Linked DNA regions of Homo sapiens: regions 1, 2 and 4 are each linked to region 3. Evidence: promoter capture Hi-C in human tissues and cell types (Jung and others, 2019). All regions are on one chromosome and are shown on one strand. Each heading gives the region's core, a stretch centred on a gene start or on the middle of the fragment in contact. The rest is flanking DNA. Distances are from core to core; before and after follow the strand shown. Region 1 holds the start of ZNF8 (zinc finger protein 8). Region 2 holds the start of NLRP5 (NLR family pyrin domain containing 5). Region 3 holds the start of ZNF264 (zinc finger protein 264). Region 4 has its middle 4.8 kb from the start of ZNF544.

What was found. The method cuts DNA at HindIII sites, captures the fragments that hold promoters and counts their contacts. A contact is called where the count stands out against the background at its distance.
Region 1: the fragment with the promoter of ZNF8 here is called in contact with the fragment with the promoter of ZNF264 in region 3 in 1 of the 25 tissues and cell types used here (spleen).
Region 2: a fragment that was not itself captured here is called in contact with the fragment with the promoter of ZNF264 in region 3 in 1 of the 25 tissues and cell types used here (thymus).
Region 4: a contact is called between a fragment that was not itself captured here and the fragment with the promoter of ZNF264 in region 3, in 1 of the 25 tissues and cell types used here (pancreas).

What each region holds. Positions count from the first base shown.
Region 1 is chr19:58,277,551-58,280,250 of GRCh38, forward strand. It overlaps ZNF8 (zinc finger protein 8), which reads left to right and starts at 1,405. Exons shown (of 4, transcript NM_021089.3): 1 at 1,405-1,597. The coding sequence starts at 1,532. It overlaps ZNF8-DT (ZNF8 divergent transcript), which reads right to left and starts at 1,192. Exons shown (of 3, transcript NR_187495.1): 1 at 973-1,192. ZNF8-ERVK3-1 (ZNF8-ERVK3-1 readthrough (NMD candidate)) reads left to right here and starts at 1,416. Exons shown (of 7, transcript NR_144447.1): 1 at 1,416-2,700. RefSeq lists enhancers at 1,481-1,530, 1,951-2,000. The HindIII fragment of the contact is 27,521 bases long and covers 1-2,700 here.
Region 2 is chr19:55,985,167-55,987,999 of GRCh38, forward strand. NLRP5 (NLR family pyrin domain containing 5) reads left to right here and starts at 1,609. Exons shown (of 15, transcript NM_001433705.1): 1 at 1,609-1,655. It also overlaps a transcript of NLRP8 not described here. The HindIII fragment of the contact is 8,677 bases long and covers 1-2,833 here.
Region 3 is chr19:57,190,077-57,192,776 of GRCh38, forward strand. ZNF264 (zinc finger protein 264) reads left to right here and starts at 1,424. Exons shown (of 4, transcript NM_003417.5): 1 at 1,424-1,870. The coding sequence starts at 1,838. RefSeq lists enhancers at 1,260-1,319, 1,340-1,429, 1,440-1,499 and a silencer at 1,670-1,939. The HindIII fragment of the contact is 13,408 bases long and covers 1-2,700 here.
Region 4 is chr19:58,222,790-58,225,489 of GRCh38, forward strand. It overlaps the pseudogene LOC100419847. Among named protein-coding and RNA genes, the nearest start is that of ZNF544, 4.8 kb to the right of the region's middle. The HindIII fragment of the contact is 6,243 bases long and covers 1-2,700 here.

The sequences.
Region 1 (2,700 bases), core at 155-2,654, 1.1 Mb after region 3:
TTTTTAATAACTTTTTATTTTTTTTTTGAGACGGAGTCTTGCTCTGTCACCCAGGCTGGAGTGCAGTGGCCTGACCTCGGCTCACGGCAACCTCCGCCTCCCAGGTTCAAGCGATTCTCCTGCCTCAGCCTCCCGAGAAGCTGGGACTACAGGTGCCCGCCACCACGCCGGGCTAATTTTTGTATTTTTAGTAGAGACGGGGTTTCACCATATTGGCCAGGTTGGTCTCGAGCTCCTGACATCGTGATCCACCCGCCTCGACTTCCCAAAGTGCTGGGATTATAGGCGTTAGCCACCGCGCCCGACCTTTAATAAACATTTTAATGGACTACAACAGACCCACAGAAAAAGACACATCACAAAGTGAACACCCACAGGGAGAAGCAATAGGGCTGTCAGAGGCATTCGACCCAGAGCGACTCCATTTTGAGTGAGGGCTAGGAAAATGAGGCTGGGCTGCATTCCCAGAAAAGTAGGTATTCCTAACCTCTAGATGTTTACGGTTAAGGGAACAAATTAATAATGGGTACTAAAACAGACCCAGACTTGGGAGTGTCCAGATATCCCGGTATCTAGAGAACAAAGGCATTCCTAATTTTGCTTTAAAAATAATATCGATTCTTGAAAAATACAGTAAGAAAATTAATCCTTTTTCACAAACCCTTGTAGCAGAGCACATCTCCCCAAAATCTATTTTTAGCCCAAATATACACAAGCATTGTACCTAGGGTGCATACGTTCCTCTTACTTTCAGGAACGTCCTACTGTCTATGGGGTAGCTGTTTCACAACTTTACTTTCTCAACAAACTTGCTTTTACTTTGCACTGCGGACTCGCCCTGAATTTTTTCTTGCGCGAGATCCAAGAACCCTCCCTTGGGGTCTGAATCGGACCCCTTTCCTGTAACACAACCACCGCTCCCAGCCTCCCCGCTTCCAGCCGCTAAGCCCAAAGTCTTTTATATGAACAAACCTCTAACTCGTCCTGTGACTTTGATGCGTGTGCGTTTTAGGCACCGGGGAGCAGAGGGTAAAGCGGCGCAGCTCCGGGCCTCCTCCCGCGCAAGTTCCCGAGAAGAGCAGGTCCGGCCCGCGCAGACGTGCACGGTCCCCAGCCATTAGGAGGAGCAGACGGTCCCCACCCCCACAATCAGTCATCTCTCGGGGTCCGCCCTTGCTTCCTGCCCACGAGTGAGGCCTCTGGTTGCCCGCAACCTAAGGGGCATCGCAGCCCCGAGCAACACCGCCCCCACCAGCCTTAGCTGAGTGCTCCCATTGGCCAGAGGCCAGCGGGTGGGGGCTCCCATTGGCCATCGGCCATAATGCTTCCATTGGTCGAAGGCCAGACCAGCGGAGACTCCCATTGGCCGAGGGCTGTGGTTCGCCGCACGGCCTACTGGGAGTTGTAGTCGCCGCGTCGCCGGTGCGGCCGCCATTGTCCGGCGTTCGGCGAGTCGGGTGGTCCCTTTGGCTGGAGTGCCTCTCTGGTCTGGGGATCACCTCAGGCGCTGTCCTTCACTGGGCGATCCAGCATGGACCCCGAGGACGAAGGGGTAGCGGGAGTGATGTCTGTGGGGCCGCCGGCGGCCCGGCTTCAGGTAACAATAACAACAATAACGACGGCGGCGGGCTCCGGGCAAGCGTCTCCCGCGCAGACTGACCCTTTCACCTCGCGGCGCGATGAGAGCGGCACCGCTGTTAATGCCCTTGACACGTGGGGAAACTCAGACGCGGGTCGGGGCGTGGTGACCGTCCTGGCTGGTCAGAGAGGGGGCCGGGATTCCAACCAGGCGCCTGGCCCCCGAATGCGCATGCTCCACGCGGCTCTGTCCTCCCCAGGGCTGGGGTCGGTCATTCCCGAGAGAATCGAGCAGGCCCATCTCCTGCGTTCTGCTCCGCCCCGCCGACACCCTTGCCCATTCCAGGAAGGTCTGTCCTCGTGTTGACTGATAACAGTAATTGTAGCGTTGGCCGGGTGCCCAGATGGCAAGAATCATCGAATAGAGATGCTTTAACGCGTGGAGTCAGCGGACACCCACCGGGACCCCAGCACCGCGGAGCCCCTGCCCTGGGGCTTGGGCACAACCTCTTGGGGGCAATGATGGGTCACCACGCACTGAGTGTGATGAGAGTGACCACCAGGGTCGTCCCCTGCGAGACTGTGGGAGAACTGCAGTGCAGGGCGGTCAGTGTTTGCAGGGCCATCTGGCCATCAGAGCTCCACTTTCTAGACAAAGTGGTTGCGGCCTGTGTTCTCCATAAAGCTGCCTCGCGTGGCAGGAAACAACAATAATTATCCTTCCTCAAGCTCTGCAACTTTGAAATTATACTTTTTTTTATTTTTTGTCGTTGGTTTGTTCATGGGGATTTGCATTATTTCAGATTTGGTACACAAAGTGAGACTTGATAATCTTAGGTTGCAGGTTTTCAGATGTGTGTTGCTCCAAATTTGCATGAAATGCTACCACGTTTTATTTTGTTCTTGCTGTGGATGGGGGACAAGGAATGAGTCGTAAGAAAGGCTTGAGAGAAAGTGTATTAGTTACCTGTTGCTGTGTAACTCAAAACTTCGTGACCTGGAACAACAATAAATATCTCACGAGTTCTGACAGGAGTAATGGAATGTCCTAGCTGGTGGTTCTGGTTCAGGCCCATGAAGTTACAGTGAAGATGTCAGCATAGCTGTTGTCACCTGAGACCT
Region 2 (2,833 bases), core at 17-2,516, 1.2 Mb before region 3:
GTGGCGGGCGCCTGTAATCCCAGCTACTAGGGAGGTTGAGGCAGGAGAATCGCTTGAACTGGGGAGGCGGAGGTTGCAGTGAGCTGAGATCATGCCATTGCACTCCAGCCCAGGTGACAGTGTGAGACTCTGTCTCAAAAAAATAAAAATGAAAAAGAAAAAAAAGAAATGCAAAGAGTTCAGGATAACTAGCACAGTATGGTATTTTCCATACATGTAATTAGAGATTGGAGAAATATACTAGGGAAACAGAATAGAGTCCAGAACAGAAGGGCATAAACATGATCACGTGACTTCTGACAAGCTGACATTACAAAAGACTAGGGAAAGGGTAGTATTGTAACAAATGGTGCTAAATTGATTGTTCCTACATAGAAGAAAAAATCTGAATTCCTACCTCATACCATATACAAAATTAATTCCAAGTATAGTATAAATCTAAATATGAAAGGAAAGACACTACACTTTCTAAAAACTAATCAGAAGACCTTCATGACCTAAGGAGAGACCATAAATTTTAAAATGCATTCACCATAAATTCTTCAAATGGAATTTTCAAACACATTTGGCCAGGCACACTGGCTCATGCCTGTAATCCCAGCACTTTGGGAGGCCGAGGCGGGTGGATCACCTGAGGTCAGGAGTTCGAGATCAGTTTGGCCAACATAGTGAAACCCCATCTCTATTAAAAATCTGAAAATTAGCCGGGCATGGTGGTACACACCTGTAGTCCCAGCTTCTCAGGAGGCTGAGGCAGGAGAATTCTTTGAACCCAGGAGGTGGAGTTTGCACTGAGTACTCCAGCCTGGGTCACAGAGCAAGACTCCACATCAAAAAAAACTAAAAATAAATACATGGGACTTTATCAAAAGTATAAACTTCTGTTTCAAGATTACTAAGAGAGTACATTTCAAGTGTTCTCACCACAAAAAAATAAGTATTCAAGGCAATGGATGTGTTTGTTAGCTTGATTTAATCATTTGACATTGTATACATAGAAGATCACACCGGACCCCAGGAAAATATACAATTATAATTTGTCAATACACAAAAAATTAAAAAATGCCAAGTGCAACTTCCAGATTATGTAAAATAAGGGCACCCAACACACACTCACACTCACACACACACTCTATCATACACAGTCTCTCACACACACACACTCTCTGTCTCACACACATTGTCTCACACCCACTCACACAGTCTCACACACATTCTCTCACACACATACACACTGTCTCTGTCTCACACATTCTCTCTCTCACACACACATGCACTCTCTCTCTCACACACACACTCTCTCACATACACACACACACACACACACACACACACACACACACTAATTGCTTCAGGACAGCCAGCTGAAGGCTGTGAGCATCCGGGCGCCCTCAGCACAGGTGTGTGGTGGTAAAGGCAGCCTCTTGCCAGCAGCAGCACCTGTAAGTGGTGCACACAGGTGCAGAAAAGTGCCTGTTCCCTGGGGCTGGTGGTTCAGAGCCGGTTGCAGCCAATGAGCAGCAGCAACATCACTGGCTCAGCGCTCCCCAGGAACTATCGCCACGTGGGCGTGGAGCTGGGCGTGGCCTTCTTTTTTCCGTGATTGCCAGCTGGCCCAGAGCTGGACCTGCTCTTGGTGGTGAGGTGTGAAGCTGGTGAGTATTCCTCCTGTCTTGCTCTCTGCCCTTCCCGCTTTTGTTCTCCACTGCTGATTAGAACCCGCGTATTGAGCTTACTAGGTGCCCCCACCCTCTCCCTTCTGGCTGCTCAAAGCCCAGGACCAAAGGATTCCTTGAAAGAACAAAGTCCAGTTACCCCATTTTGCTGAAAAGATCTTCCTCTAAAACCTCATATTTACTTGGGGTATTTAGGTAAGTCTCTCGTCCTTTTCAGACATTCGGTCTAAAATACTGTACAGAGGGCTGGGTGCAGTGGCTCACGCCTATAATCCCAGCACTTTGGGAGGCCGAGGCAGGTGGATCATCTGAGGTCAGGAGTTCAAGACCAGCCTGGCCAACATGGTGAAATCCTCATCTCTAATAAAAGTACAAAAATGAGCTGGGCGTGGTGGCATGTGCCTATAATCCCACCTTCTAGGGAGGCTGAGACGGGAGAATCGCTTTAACCCAGGAGGCAGAGGTTGCAGTGAGCCAAGGTCACGCCACTGCACTCCAGCGTGGGTGACAGAGTGAGACTTCGTCTCAAGTAAAAATTAAGTACAGAGTAGGGGGTACTGCAACTTGAATGTCAGGATTAGCTAATGTCTGGTCTGCATTTGGTAGGAGTCCAGAGGGTGTTTTGGTGCTAATTGTGCAAATACTATGGTTAACCGTAACTTAGTTATTGAAATGCCATACAATTCTGACGGTGTTGTTTGTCCTGTTTACCAAGGGAGGAAGCTGAGCCCCAGATAAGTTAAATGGCTTGCCTGGGGTAGAAAGCAGCAAATCATTCAAAGCTGGGTCTGAGACTTCAAGCCCTATAATCTTAACTGCTGCTTTCTAATCATTCAGGACACCTGGGTAGAAAGGTGAGGTGGGAGGGGTACGGTCTGTAGAAAAAGCATAGAGACAAAATGCAAGCTTAGGGAAGTCACTCATCCTCAGAAAATAACCTCAACCAGCAGCCTTCCTTTACCTCCCTCCAGCTGTATTCCTGCCTGGACTCGAATAACTAGCTTCTCCCCAACTCCTCACCCACCCGACTTCACGGGAAAAAGTGACTGCCTATCCCAGATTAATCCTTAGGCCGTCCAGTCATCTTTCTCTGGGGCTTGATTGATCAGTTCCCACTCTGACAACTGGCAAATACCAGGCGTTATCATCCTGTATGC
Region 3 (2,700 bases), core at 174-2,673:
TGATTGAGGAATTGATAAATAGAAACAGGGAACTGAAACCAGCTCCAGTGTCCCATAGAACTGATATTTATGGTTTCTTTTGAATCAACACATTATAGACATTGAGCCTCCCCTTCCTAAAACTCGAGACACTTTTATTTGTCTTATCTGATTTCCTTTCTCAGGAAACCAAGCATCAGGCCTCCCAGATAGTATAAAGAAACTGAAACTTACTGGATTACCACATCTGGAAAAACGAGATGCTATACCCCTTACCCATGATGATTGCCTAACTGACCATCTGCTGCCTGTTGACCCATTCCTCTTCCTTACCCCTTCCTAATTCCTGTTTTCTCAAACATAGTTACACTTCTTCCCTGATGTATAAACCCCTAGTTTTAGTCAGTTGAGGAAAGAGATTTGAGATTGATCTCCCATTTTCCTCAGCTGCAGCACCGAATAAAGCCTTCATCCCTGACAATACTCATTGTCTTGCTGACTGGCCTTCTGTGCAGCAAGCAGCAGGATCTAGATGCAAGGACCTGGCCTTTCTGGTAATATTGTCATCAACCATTTAATGATGTAGACTTGGTCCCCGGCTCATGCTCTGTGTATTTTCTTCTCCATCTACATGCATTGCCTTGATGGTCTCACTCAATATCATGACTTGAAATAACAGTGTAAGGTAACTCCTAAATTCATATATTCATGCTCAAACCTTCTTCCAACATTCAGTCGTAAGTCGAATTGCCTGTGACAGAGATACTTTGTGGTTCTGTAGACATTTCAAACTAACCATCCTGAGCCTCCGAACCTCCTCCACTTGCAGCCTCCCCACCTCAGAAGTGGGCAAATCCACTTTTTGTGTGGTCTGGGCCAAATACATGACTCCCTGCATCACGTAGAGGCTGTGCTGGTCCAAAGAAGGCTCAAAAGAGGGCAGTTTGCGCACACAACGTGTCGGGGCAGGGCTTCCAGATGATCATTCGGCTTTTTTGTGTCTTCCAAGATGATGATCCGGGGAGGAGGGATGTGAAAGGGGGTCAGTCGCCAGGCGAGCTGAGGACCCAGTTCTGCGCCTTTGCCTGTGCCCTGACCTGAAGGAAAGTCCCTGTCTCCCGAGCTCCGATTTTCCCGAGAGAAGAATGCAATGTAACCCTTGCCCCTCGGTTCCCTCCCTCCATCCTTCCCCTCGAGTTGTGCCCACCGTAAAGAGGTGGGTCTGGAGCGTCTCCTCGGGTCCTGGAGTGCCTTTCCCTGGGAGGAAAACTTGCGCCGTGAAGCGTTCCTCCCGTTGTTGAACACATGAGGAAAACTACACTACTTAGAAGGCTGTGCATTATGCGTACGGCGGGAGCTGGGCCAACGACGGCCTAGGACGGGGACGTTTCCGACGGCTCACGCCGGTGGGGGCGGGACTTCCGGGTTGCTCGCTGCGGACGCCATTTTCTTCTGCACTTCTGTCTGGAGAGGTCTGTAGCCACTGAGGGCCCCGGTCGGGGCCGCTTTGCAGGTCCCTAGTCAGGACCGAGCAGGGGAGTAGGATAGGAATCCCCGCCGCACCTTTGTACGAGCCTGACCCCTTCCGTGGGTTTGTTCCTGGGTCGCCGTCAAGCTGCGGTCTCTCCTCCCCCGCCCTTCAGCCCCGCGGTCTCCAGGGGCGGCGCCCTGGGTCTGGAACGCGGTTGCCACCGAGGAGGCGGCGGCCCTGCGTCTGGAACGCCGTTGCCACCGAGGAGGCGGCGGCCCCGAGCGCGCCTGGAAGCCCCGGGCAACCGGCCAGGGTCGGGCACAGGTGGGGTCCGTCAGGCCGCCCGGGGCTCCTCTGTCCCAGCTCTGCGGCCCAGGGGGTGACGTGATGGCGGCAGCGGTGCTGACGGACCGGGCCCAGGTGAGTGGACGGTGGCTTCGCGGTTGCCGCTTCCTTGCCAGCGCTGAGGCGGTTTCCGAAGTGGGTGGGAGCCCAGGTATCCCCTGGATTTGTCTTCGCAGTCGTCGTTCGCTTTGGTGTGTGGAGCTGGTTTGCCACTTAATTTATACCTGGCCGTAAGGAGTGTTGGGCCTACTGGAAGGAGCTCCGTAGGTTGTTGAGTGAATGATGCTTCCTCTGGGGACTCCCATCATCCTTGGCCTGCAAGCATTCTCTGGTGGACCAGGTCTCATTCCAGCATGAATTGGGGGCCTGAGGGGGGAAGGGGAGGGCAGGGCAGTAGCAAGCCGACAAATGCGCGAGCAGAGACAAGGTATGTTGTATGTTTAAGGAGGCTCAGGAGGGTGTGTAAGGTTGCCATGGTTTTCCTGCGGCCGCTGAGACGTGGAGGGCAACAGTGTGTGGTCTTTTCCTGGATGTTCTAGCCATCCGCAACTACTGCAGACATTGTGGCCAGTCAGATGCCCTTACTCTCATCGCTACAGCCTGCATTATCCTTGGCCGCTCGTGTTCCGTGGCCCCAAAGTATCCTGGCGTCAGAGACAAGTTCTGTCGGAACCCAGTAAGGAAAGAGGCCGATGGTTGGTTCATTGTGGAATTTCCTTGGGGGATCTGGGAGACCCAGGGAGATCCCAGAGGGCATGGGAAGCTGGTCTGGAGCCTGTCGTTCCCCAAGTAGATGCAGCCCTTCCAGTGCCGCTCTGTGGGGTCAGTGAGGAATGCTGAGCTTTTTGTGCCCGTGTTCACATACTTTTTTTTGTTTTGAGACAGGGTCTCACTCTGTCGCCCAG
Region 4 (2,700 bases), core at 84-2,583, 1.0 Mb after region 3:
GGGGCTCTGACCTATAGAAATGAAGGCACTAATTCTGGGTGTCCGGGGGTGTTTACTACAGTATTGTTTATGTTGTGTTTGGAAATAGAGAAGAGTGTGGGAGGTGAATGCTAGGATTTTACACTGAAAGAGGTGCAGATGAGGGGGAAGAAGTAGGCTGGAGCAAATTGAAAGTGATGTCTGCTATAATTAGTTAAGAGAAAATATGAATGTAAGGTTCAATGTATGAAGTTTTTTTTTTTCTTTTTCTTTTTTTTTTTTTTTTTTTAGACAGTCTTGCCCTGTTGCCCAGGCTGGAATGCAATGGCATGACCTTGGCTCACTGCAACCTCTGCCTCCCAGATTCAATCAATTCTCCTGCCTCAGCCTCCCGAGTAGCTGAGCCTCCCGCCACCATGCCTGGCTAATTGTTGTATTTTTAGTAGAGACAGGGTTTCACCGCGTTGGTCAGGCTGGTCTTGAACTCCTGACCTTGTGGTCTGCCCACTTCAGCCTCTCAAAGTGCTGGAATTACAGGCGTGAGCTACTGAGCCCAGCCACAAGGTATGAAGTTTTTCTAGACATGTAAAAGTGAGCATGCACTTGGGCAAAAACGAGAGTCATCCAAAAATGAAAACATAAGATTTAATTTCAGGATGGGAGTCTATGTCATCTTCTATTTGAATTTTCTGTTATTTCCTGAGTTCCAACTTTTTTCCACTCCAGATAATTCATACTATAATATTTCCATAAACCTGGCTCACAGAATAAAAGTTTGAAAAATAAGTTTATTTCAATAATCATTAGAAAAATTATAGTCGGGCACGGTGGCTCATGCCGGTAATCCCAGCACTTTGGGAGGCCGAGGCTGGCAGATCACGAGGTCAGGGATTCGAGACCAGCTGATCAACATAGTGAAACCCCGACTCTACTAAAAGTACAAAAATTAGCAGGGCGTGGTGGTGCGCGCCCATAATCCCAGCTACTCAGGAGGCTGAGGAAGGAGAATTGCTTGAACCTGGGAGGCAGAGGTTGCAGTGAGCCAAGATCGCACCACTGCACTCCAGCCTGGGCGACAGAACGAGACTCTGTCTCAAAAAAAAAAATTATGGAAGTGAAAAATTGTGCAAAAATGAGTGTGTACCAACTTTCTGTCAGAGCTTCACCTTAATCATCTAATAAGAAAGCAAACAAAAGATAAACTGTATAAGCATGCCAACAATAATCTTTATTTCTGCCATGTTTTACCCTTTAATATTCAGAAGAAAAGTCATACAGGAGGAAAATTTTATAACTATAGTAAATATAGACAACTTGAACAACACTAGATCTCTACTGGCCAAAAGGAAAAAACAAAAAACAACCCCCAGTATATCCCTAAATGTACACCAGAGAATCTTAAAAGATAAAATAATTTGGCCAGGCACGGTGGCTCCCGCCTGTAATCTCAGCACTTTGGGAGGCCGAGGTGGGCGGATCACGAGGTCAGGAGATCGAGACCATCCTGGCTAACACGGTGAAATTCCATCTGTACTAAAAATACAAAAACAAAATTAGCCAGGCATAGTGGCGGGGGTCTGTAATCCCAGCTACTCCAGAGGCTGAAGCAGGAGAGTGGCATGAACCCAGGAGGCGGAACTTGCAGTGAGCAGAGATCGCACCACTGCACTACAGCCTGGGCAACAAAGCAAGACTCAAAAAAAAAAATAAAATAATTCATGTGATTATAATAAATTTGAGAAAAACTTCTTTTATAGCTCTTGCCTTTCTCAAAGGGGGAGGACTCATCCTGGAGAGAAACCCCATGGATGTATTCAACATGGTAAATCTTTTTGATGGAGCTCTCACCTAGTTGCACATCACAACTTATACCAGATAGAAAATTTATGAATGTAATCAATGTGGAAAGTTTTTCAGCCTGGTGCTCCCACCTTGTTAGACGTATACTGAAGACTCTGGGAACATCGGGAACGTCAGAGAGCTTTCAGCAGGAGATCTCATCTAATTGGGCAATAGAAAACTCATACTGAAGAAAAACAATTCCATGTAATCAATGTGAGAAATATTTCAGTGACATCCTTGATTTTAATTGGCATCAGGGAAAGTGTAATAGAGAGAAGCCTTATGAATGTAGTCAAGGTAGGAAATCTTTCTATACAGCTCTGGCCTTGTTGCACATAAAATAACTCATACTGGAAAGAAGCTTCGTGACTGTAATCAGTGTTGGAAATGGTTCAGTTAGAGTTCTCACTTGTTGCTCATCAGATAAATCATACCGGTGAGAAACTGCGAGTGTCCTGAGTGTAGGAAATCAGCTGGAGCTGATTACTTATATGGCATCAGAGATTTCACATTAGAGAGAAACCTCATGAATGTCACTGGTGTGGAAAATCCCGCAGCAAGAATTCTCACCTTATTGAACAGCAAATAACTCATTCTGGAGAGAAGCCTATAAATGTAGTCAACGTGGAAAAACTTTCAGACAGAATTATTATTGTGTATGCACCAAAAAATTCATATGGGCAAAAGCCAACATGAATGTCTAAATGTGAAAAAGCCTTCAGGAGACTATCTGACCTTATGGAACACCAGATCATTCATAATAGAGAGAAACTGTATGCATATAATCAGTGCAGAAAGGCCTTTCAGGCAGCATTCTAATCATGTCAGGCACCAGATAACTCATTCTTGAGTCAAACTGTTAATGAACTTTTTATTTAT